Regions from separate parts of the Homo sapiens genome. Here region 2 is linked to region 1. Evidence: promoter capture Hi-C in 16 types of primary human blood cells and fetal thymus (Javierre and others, 2016). All regions are on one chromosome and are shown on one strand. The core of a region is centred on a gene start or on the middle of the fragment in contact, and the rest is flanking DNA. Distances in the headings are between cores, read along the strand shown.

Region 1 (5,067 bases), core at 1,236-3,735:
CACTCTAGATTTTCGGGTTCTTAAGTTCAGATCACATGACACCATCCAGCATCCTAATGCACAGGTACATTAAGTACCACTGCACATTCTCCCAGATGATTTTAGAAATGCAAACTATTAAAGTTGGATATTGTAGATATTAGCTATTTCCAGGTCAAATTATTTTCCTTGGGTGTTTGATGTTGATTTTTGACATAAGCCTGGTTTAACAATTGTGATTAGCAGCTCAAGTGTGAGCATAAACAGCCCATCAATGAGTCGATATGACTACTAAGGGCATGCCTAATGACAGGAAAATGATTGTGCTGACAATACAAGGTGGAGAACACGGGCTGCTTCTCAGAAAACATATGTTTATCATTCTAGTTCTCTGATTTTCTGCAGTTAATCATTTTTATTTTCTGTTTAGAAAGCTGAGTCACTCATTTAGAGGCAAAAAATAATGATAAATGTAATTCAGTTTAACAGCCCTGGGTGCCAGAACATTTTAATTTAACCAAGATGTTTTCTGCTTTTACCTATTGCAGCTTGAAAGTTAACTCCTTCTCCAATTTTTGCTGCCTTAAAAAAAATCCCTAAGATTCACTACATTAGTACAAGTGGGAAATAAAGCTATCAGTTTATGCCTAAAATCAGGGGTATATGCTAGGTTTTTGAGCACTGGAAAAATTACTTAGTTCTGATATATCAGTGACAGAATTCTTTAGCTCAAAACCATCCTTAGAGTAAAATGCATTAGAAGTTTAAGAACCTTCCTCTCTGTCACCAATGGAAACCTAAAGTATATTGCCTTCAAGAGAAGAAAGGTTCAACTCGTTTAGAAGCTTGTTATGGAAGTTTCCCAGACACAAGAGTATTTTATAGGCTGTGTGTGTTTACACTTTGGAAGAACACAAAGAAGCTAATTCATTCTTGGAAAGTGTTTCTTATAAACCTTGTTTATTTATTTCAAAACAAACCAGTTATTGAAAACAAGCATAAGCCATTCCAAAGCTACTGGTCACAGAAACCTGAATTATCAACCGGGTGGTAGAGGAGCCAACAAGAAACAGAAAGATGAAATGGAGTAAGTGCACGCTTGTTCAGAGAGCTGCGGCAGTCCTGGATCTGCTGAAGAGACCTAGAGGAGAAGCGCTTCAGAACCTACACATTGAGTCTTAGGCCCAAACATGCATATGCTTAAGAAAGAAGCAATCCTGTCATCCTGTTTCTTCGCAACCAAAGGAAGGGGGAGTGGAGGGACCAACGGTTCCCGCCCTCTTACCCGGTTGTTGATCTAGGGCAAGGATCCTGAAGAACTTGCCTGAGTAACGCGAACTGTGCAAAAGTTCTCAACTACGAGTGGGAGCCCCTCCTCACAGCACTCCCCCCACCCCTATCTGTGCACTTGTGAGCAAACTGAAAAATGCAACAATGACAAAGAAGCTTGCCACTTGCAAGCGCGCACTCACCCTGGGCTGTGGAGCCCAGCTGGCCGCCGCCCGCCTCGGCCACGCGCTGCGGCCCCACGGGCCCGGGAGCGAGGGCTTCGCCCGCGCCGGACATGGGCCGCTCCGCCGAGCCCGCGCCGCGCCGCTGCCGCCTAGCTCGCCGCCCGGCAGGGCGCACGGAGGAAGGGCTGTGAGGTGCTGGGTGCAGGGAACTGACTGCTTCTGGCGGAAAAATATACAAAATTAAAAAAAAAAATGTTTTTAGAGAAGAGCACACCACCCCTGCGGGACGTTCCCTCCCCCTCCACTTCCCTCCCTCAAACTCCACCCCGGGGAAGTTTTGATTTGAAACTTGCGAAGAAAACTGTTACAGCGCAAGTTGACAGCGGCGGGGTCCCAGGGGTCCGAGGTGGACCCAGCGGGGAGGGGCTGGAAAGAGAGATCGGGTTTGGGAGAACCCCGGGGATGGGGATCAAACCCCTCCTCTTCCCCGCCCGGAGACCACTACCTACCTCCGCATCCCCCCGTAGTCGCTCCAAGCCCCTTCCTCCTCCTCCTCCTCCTCTTCCGCCCCGGAAAGTTAGCGAGCCTCCGGCAGCGGCCGCATTTTCGCCCCGGTGGCCTGACGACGGCGGCGGCCGCCCCTGCGCGTCCTCCCGCCTCCCTCCGGCTCAGCCCAGACGCCGCAGTGGCGGCAACTGCGGCAGCGGTGGCGGCTCTGACTCCGCGCACTCCGCCCCCTCTTTCCAGCCAGCTCACTCCAGCCGGCTCCCCTGCGAGGGGGCCTTCCCCCTCTCTGCCTCTCTTTCCCCTCTTCCACTCCTACAATCCTGAAACACTTCTCCCTCTGTTGCTCTTTTTCATCACATCCGGATCGGGAAGGCCTCGAACTCTTGGCTAGCGGCCCCGATGCTGGGAGCGGCGCGACCCGGGCTCGGCCGCGCGATCCCTCGCGCCCTGCGCTGTCTGGGTCAGGAGGCCAGAGCCGGCCTGGGCTGGCTCGGGCTCCCCACCCGGGCGCTGCGCCCTCCCGGGGCTGGGAAAGGGGAGTGAATGGGCAGGTCCCTGGCTGCCCAGACGTTCCCCCCACCCCGCCCAAAAAGTCACCTCATCCCTTCTCCCTACTCCTGCCCCCAGACCGACGGAGGCTTTGGGAATATCCTGACGAAAACCTTTAGGGTGGACAAGGAAAAACGAAAACACTGTTACAGTATCGAACTTTCCTGGTGGGATAGAGAACGTGTGCGTTTGAAACCTTGACCCCTCGGTTGAACGTTTACTCACTTCATCTCTGGCTCCTAAATTACTCTTTGGTCAAACAGTATTCCTGATGTAAAACCAGTTGCAGTTTGCGCGAATCTGCTGGAGGCATCCAGGCAAACAAGGTTGGCACCCTTGCGGATGCCGTGGTACTGGCCCCAGCCTGGCCTATGGCAAGCTAAATGCCTCACTGGATCAGTGGTATCTGAGGGGAGATAAACTTGTGGTCGGAAGTAAAAAGCTGATCAACTTTCCGTTTATAAATGAGACATTCTGATTGTAGCTTAATCTGATGAGCCGAGGATAGCAAGTGTAAAGTAATTTACAGATATATAGTACTTTAGTGGTATACTCAGATAACTTTTGCTCTTTTATTTCATTGTGAATGAAATGCAGAATTCATTTGTAGAAAGCTAGAACGAACTCATTCTTCGATTCTTTTGGACAAGCGAGGAATCACAGTAACGTTATCAAAACTGAAGAAAATGTGCATTGGATTCACTGTCTTTCTATGTGCATCATTAATAATATCCCAGAAATTTCATTTTTTCAAAAAGCTCATTGGAATTTATTCCAATTGATTACAAAGATTTACTTGTTACCTATGAAGAGACAGTGCATTCTAACTTGATTTCAATGATGGTAAAAAAGCCAGCCTTCGGCCGGGAGCGGTGGCTCACGCCTGTAATCCCAGCACTTTGGGAGGCCGAGGCAGGTGGATCACCTGAGGTCAAGAGTTCGAGACCAGCCTGGCCAACATGGTGAAACCCAATCTCTACTAAAAATACAAATATTAGCTGAGCATTGTGGCGGGCGCCAGTAATTCTAGCTACTGGGAGGCTGAAGCAGGAGAATCGCTTGAACACAGGAGGCAAAGGTTGCAGTGAGAAGAAATTGTGCCATTGCACTCCAGCCTGGGCGACAAGAGCAAGACTCCATTTAAAAAAAAAAAAAAAAAAAAAAAAACAGCCTTCAAAGTTGCTGATGACAGTCATTCAGACCATTCTCCCCAAAAAGACAAATGACATTTTGCCCCATTACACATAACTAACATTTTTTTTTCACTTGGAGATTTCAGAAATGGTATGAAATCAAGTGCATTACCTCTCTTGAAAACTTATCTAGGAGCCTGGACTGTTTGGAATTTGTCTGATGGAAGCAGATCAGTTCTGAAGATGACTTCATCACCACTAGAGAACAAACATTTAGGACGTCTCAGAGTTCACTGCAGCATCATCTGCACTCAAAGGAGTTGTTTACCTGCTCTGGAAAATTCTGTTTTATCCCTGTATCATTCCTTGCCCTATTTTTAAAATTCTCTCACAAAGATGTTAAAGTCCAATAATATAAAGAAGTTACAGCTTTCTTCTAGAAAGTCATAATCAATGATAAGTATTTGTTCATTTAATTTCACACAGTCCTTAATATTGCACACGTGGTGGGTGATTCCATAGATATTCCTTAAATTAAATTTTAAAATCTTTAATGGAGAAGACATAAAATTAAAATAACATTAGGAGCAAATGAGAAGCTGTAGGGTAGCATCACCAAGGTTGTCAAATACTGTACCTCATTCAGCTGTGTGACTTTGGACAGTTAGTCACCCACTCTATACCTTGGTTGCCTCATAATATGAGAATGAAATTCTTCATAGAGTTTCTTTTTGAGCACTAAGTAAGGTAGTTTTCCTATAAAATTTGGAAGACTCTCAAGGGAAAAGGTGTTCAAAAGTATCAACTATTATTACTATTATACACGGAAGCATCTTGATGGGTAAAGCTGAGCATGGCATAATGACTGTATCAAAAGGGTCATATCAAAATACCAGTTTGTCATGCCATGCACCTGACGCAAATGATCTCAATGAATTCTTCCATCGGCCCTATAAGTAAATTGCCAGGATTGTACCTTCAGGATTAGAACTCAGGTCTGTCTCTCTTCCAGGCTATCCTGCATCCCTAGGTAACTCAGGTCTTCCTTCTGGAGGACCTAGAAGTGGTCTTAATGCCATTAACCTGGTGTCTGATATGCCAGAAGTTAAGTGTGGGCTCCTGAGTGTCCCTCACGCCTCCCATTTCCCACATCCCTGGCTGCACTTGCTTGTTCTGATTGCTTCATTTGTTTACTGACAAGCACTCCAGTACGTTCATCTCTCATTCTTTCACTCAGTGTCACGAACTGAAAGTTTGTGTTTCCCCAAAATTCATATGCTAAAATCTTAGCCCCTAATGTCATGGTGTTAGTAAGTGGGGCCTTTGGGAGGTAGTTAGGTCATAAGAGTGGAGCCCTCATGAATGGAATTAATGTCCTTACAAAAAGACACAAGAGGCCAGGTGTGGTGGCTCACACTGAGGCAGGGAGATCTTTTGAGGCCAGC
Region 2 (4,712 bases), core at 2,018-4,517, 300 kb before region 1:
GAGTTTGAGGCTTATAAACATCTCAGGGTGCTTCTGGGCTCAGGTCAGGGAGCACTTTGCAGGCCAGCATATTGAAGCCTTCCTTTATATTGTTACCAAATTGAAAGCTTGCTGGTGAACATGAGACACAACCCTTGAAAGAGGAAACTCTCTTCAATGCAGCTTGAGCCATATGCCATCCAGTTGTCTTACGGGCAGTAGTGGGTCCCCTTTTTTCCAAGTGTGTAGAGAAGAGCATCGTGTCTTTTGTGGCACCAGCTTGCCAGGCCCAGAGCATTCTCCTTCAAGTGCCTCATTCAGTCTCCAAGTTGGCTGAATAAGGCATTTTACTGATGTTAACAGAGGGACAGACACATATGGAGACAGTCAGCTGTCCAATCACTGCATTCTAAGAATAATTCTTTCTATCAGTGTCATCCTATTCAATACAAATACCTCTCAAACTCATGATAGACTTACATATATGGTAGTGTAGCATAGTGGTTAGGGTTTAGCCTCTGGGGGTGGACCACCTCCACTTAAATCCTGAATCTGCCACTAGTTGAGTGTCCTTGGAAGCAAATTGCATGACCTGGGAAATCCATTTCTGCATATGCAAAATTGTGATACTAGAATCCACCTCACAGGGCTGTTGTAAAGATTAAAGGATTTAGTTTTTGTAGGCTGTTTAGAACAGGTTTTGTTAGTTTTTATCATTAATGTTTTCTATATTGAATATTTTTCTATTGTTCCAGTTACCAGTGCTGTCATCCTCACACACTCTCACATCTAAAACTTAACATGTCTTCGCAGTTCCACCTCAACAATATCTTGTTAATGCAGCCCTTTCTTTATACTCCAGCTGTCTTGTATAGTTCTTACTGTCTGTATTACTCTGGTGGAATTTATTGTATACTATACTCCTTTGTATTGCTCACTGCTCATTCTTTTCTTTCATGTTTTCATTTTTGGGTTTCCCGTTGAGATCTTTTCTTACTCTTCTTTGTATTCTTTTCTGCACTTTAGTATTGATAACGTGTGGTACATAATAATATGTAATCAATATTTATTAACCAGAGTTCTGTTTCTTTTATTTATTCAAAATTCAAAATAGGTACATTATTAGTACCTACTACATAATAGACATCAGGTAAAGTAACTGCAATACACTATGAAAAAAACTACAATAAAATCATGAGGAATTATATTGGCAGAAAGGAAGCAGCAATAACTCTGCTTGCAAGAGCCAGAAAAAGCATTGCAAGGTATATTCTTCAATGGGATATTGAAGGATAACTAGGAGGTTTCCAGATTTATGGAGAGTAGTAGGATAAACAAAGAGAAAGAAATATGCTTATTGGCTTAGAGCTGTGAACTAGTATGGGGGAACTTAGAGGAATCACCAGGCAATGGAAGAAATGATGCTGGATAAGTAATGATAATAAGTTAATCTTAATTGAGCACTTCCTAAGTTTTCAAGCACTCTGTGTGCATTATTTCTGATGCTCACAGTGGCCCTAAATAATATACTAACCCAGTTTTACAGATGAATGAAGTGAAGCTCAGAAGAGTAATAGGTTTGATAATAAGCATGGGTAGAACTGGAATTCCAGCCCATTGGTCTCCATTACTGCACTGATTCTGTTGTCCAGCCCACTAATGTGTCATGAGCATGCAGATGTATGTATTTCACCTTGTAACAGAGAGAGAGAAAGAGAAAGAGATCTCAATGGAGAGCAAGGTCCCAGAATAATCTCAGTATGCTGGTAACAATTATAAAAAAGAACAAAATTGTCCTATGCTTCAGATAGGCGAATTAACTTTAGATTCTAGATTTGATACAAATGATTGTTTAGTGCTTATAATATTCTAGCTACTTTCCTAGGATCCTTTCTTTCTATCAGTGACAAAAAGTCACACATAGTCCTTACTTCAAATAACTTCAAGTCTTCTACAATAGATTCCTAGATAAATAATGAGGGAGACCTGTATTCTAATTTTATTCTGCTACCCACTTTGAATCAGCCAAAGGTTGACTTAAATATTGTTGTGCCTACTTTTTTCATAAATGCATAAGGAATTGTAACCTGTATTGTAAAGATGAATGATTATTTCATTTTTTTACAAAGAAAAAAATGACAGAAACTGAAGGATATGCTTCAAAAGTACTATAACAAGCTTATCAAGCTAGAAGTCTTTTTTTTTTCAAGAATCCTAATCATTCTAACTACAGAAAAAATTCTAGATTATAGCATTTAAAATCTTCAATAAATTGATAATAATCAGCACAGAGTAGCTTCTCTGTGTTATGCTAAGGATGATCTGACTCAACCAGACAACAACAAATTCTGCTTAAATTAGAATCTGCAAAGACATAGAACAGGTTTTGCTTGTTTCCAGAACTTTAGCTTGAGTATAAGTTTTGGAGATATATGTCTGTGTCTATGAGTCTGAGTTATTCACTCATTCAACAAGATTTAAGGTGCCATACACTTCCAGATATCATCGACTGCTAGTAAATGCTAATTAACAAGCAAGTAAACTGGAAAAATATCAAATGGAATACCTTAATGAGTGATATTACAGAGAAAAAAATGGAATATTTGCTTAGTAATTTAAGTAAATGGATATTATTTTCTAATATAAATTGGTAGTATATTCACTTAATATTTTTAAGGAAAAAAAACAGAAAAATACTTAGCATTTTACTACCACATTCAGAAAAATTGCAAGATTAGCTTGAAACTTTTAAAATCTCTAACCATTGAGTAATTTGAGTTTGACATATTTAATCACTGGACTATATATTAGAATGTATACTTCACGTATTGTTTTAAGTAACCTGGGCTAAGATGAGCTTCTCTAGACTTTTTAGGTCTTCAAACACATTCTAGTCACCAATATTAAATCTTCATACTAAAATATCAAAAATAAATGCGATATTTTTTAAATCTCCAAAAAGGCTGTCTTGGATCTAGGTCAGGCAGTGAATACCCTGATACATGTGAATATACAGTAGTAATCCCTTTCTCTGATTATAGCTAGACTCACTCTTTTTTACTTTTGGGTCACAGTTATATCTTACATAATCCAGCAGAGGGTGCTTCCTTTTTAGGGTTGGATTAGAATTAAATATGATAGGCAAAAAGTTAAAATCTTTTCATATTTCATTTCCAGTGATTGATTAAATCAAATCCCCTTGTAGTTTAATATATTTTCAGAAGTTTCCTAAGGATAGTTATCTTCATGCAGCATCACATGTTTTAACCAGCAATTACATAACAACAGTGTATGTGCACCTTTAACATGTTTACTGTCCTATTTTCCTTCTCGATTAGAAGTTATGATCCCTACTCAAAAGTTCCAGGTATATTCAACATAGGGACACTTTTGTTTAATAGTACTCCTTCCACTCTGGGAATATATAAGAAGTGTTGCTGCCATTTACAAAAACTATGTGTGTAAGTTGTGTGTCTGCACGTGTGTTTAGGAAGAAAAAAAAGGAGCTTTCTTTGAGAGAATTCTCCAAAACAAAAGCATAGTTTCAGAGCATTCACAACATCATTGGCCATGCTAAGAGTAGATGAAAATGTGTAACCTCTTCTCAAGAGCTAAATGGCCAGGTTTCAAGGAATAGTTCATTTTCTTAAGTGTGTGGCCCTGAATTTCCCTGCTGCATAAGAGTAGTTCCCGAAATTGTCATCTCAGGAGGATCCTAGTATTTTTTTTTTAATTCTTTTGCAGCAAGTCACCTAGTTCTGAAGTAGCTGGCCTTGCACAGAAGGTTCTGCTAAGGAATGTGAGGTACTCAAAATGGCTTTGAATCACACTTCTCAGAAGAGACAACCACAGGCATTACAAAGGAGAAAGCTGGAGTAGTCTCAGCTATCAAGTTAGCTTCAAGAGATTTTTCCCTCCCACCACTTTATGTATGATAGTGCAGTCAAATTTAATAAATGGAGATTATATTTCCCTGAGTATCTTGCAAGCAGACTCAAAAGCAGATTTTGCTTTTGAATCCCCTTCCATCTCAAATTATTACTGTTAAAAGTTGTACACCCGTATGGAAGACAGGCATTTCTGGAAATACAAAATAGTAGGAAATCTGTATCTTTGAGTGCTGAGCTAGCCCACACTAGAAGCAAAATACAAAGCTAAGAAAATGAGCTGGTTTTGGTGAGCAAATGTTTTATATCTGCACACAAGAAAACTGAGGACAGCTCTAACTTTAAATCCCATTAGAAAATGCTGTGATTAACTGCAGGACCCCACTGATTTTTCAGGTAATAGATGAACATGCCACAGTGAAATATTTCCCCTTCTTTATTTACAAACAAAAGAGGATTTTTATGTGGACAGAAATCAAAACATTACTGAAGCACTGGTTGCCTAAGCTTAAATTCTTTCACATTAACACAGATGCTTTATTATGTAACGTCAACATCTTCCATATTTTTGAATGGTTTTGAATGGTATAATCTGTAATATTTTGTGATTTCCCTTAAAATGGGTTGGTTTCTTCAGAAAGAATTCTGGACCTACAACATAATGAAGTAATTAACTAGAGAACAAAAGGTTTTTCTTTTGTTTCAGAAAAAACTTGCTTCTAAGACACAAGTTACACATGCATTATTTTTAGGACCATCAGCCTTGCCCTGGATGATGATTTTGTTGTCAGAAATGTTTTTATTATTTTCTGCAATACCAAAAAGACCCGACAAAACATTAATAGG

The links. The method cuts DNA at HindIII sites, captures the fragments that hold promoters and counts their contacts. A CHiCAGO score of 5 or more calls a contact.
Region 2: a fragment that was not itself captured here is called in contact with the fragment with the promoter of MDFIC in region 1 in 3 of 17 cell types (activated CD4 T cells, M0 macrophages and total CD4 T cells); the score reaches 5.6 in activated CD4 T cells.

The regions. Positions count from the first base shown.
Region 1 is chr7:114,919,512-114,924,578 of GRCh38, reverse strand. It overlaps MDFIC (MyoD family inhibitor domain containing), which reads right to left and starts at 2,485. Exons shown (of 5, transcript NM_001166345.3): 1 at 1,943-2,485; 2 at 1,452-1,652. The coding sequence starts at 1,545. RefSeq lists silencers at 1,466-1,605, 1,836-2,015, 2,026-2,075, 2,406-2,545. The HindIII fragment of the contact is 10,461 bases long and covers 1,428-5,067 here.
Region 2 is chr7:115,215,922-115,220,633 of GRCh38, reverse strand. All of the region lies in intron 1 of LINC01392 (long intergenic non-protein coding RNA 1392), which reads left to right. Among named protein-coding and RNA genes, the nearest start is that of LINC01392, 13 kb to the left of the region's middle. RefSeq lists an enhancer at 3,519-4,075. The HindIII fragment of the contact is 2,216 bases long and covers 2,160-4,375 here.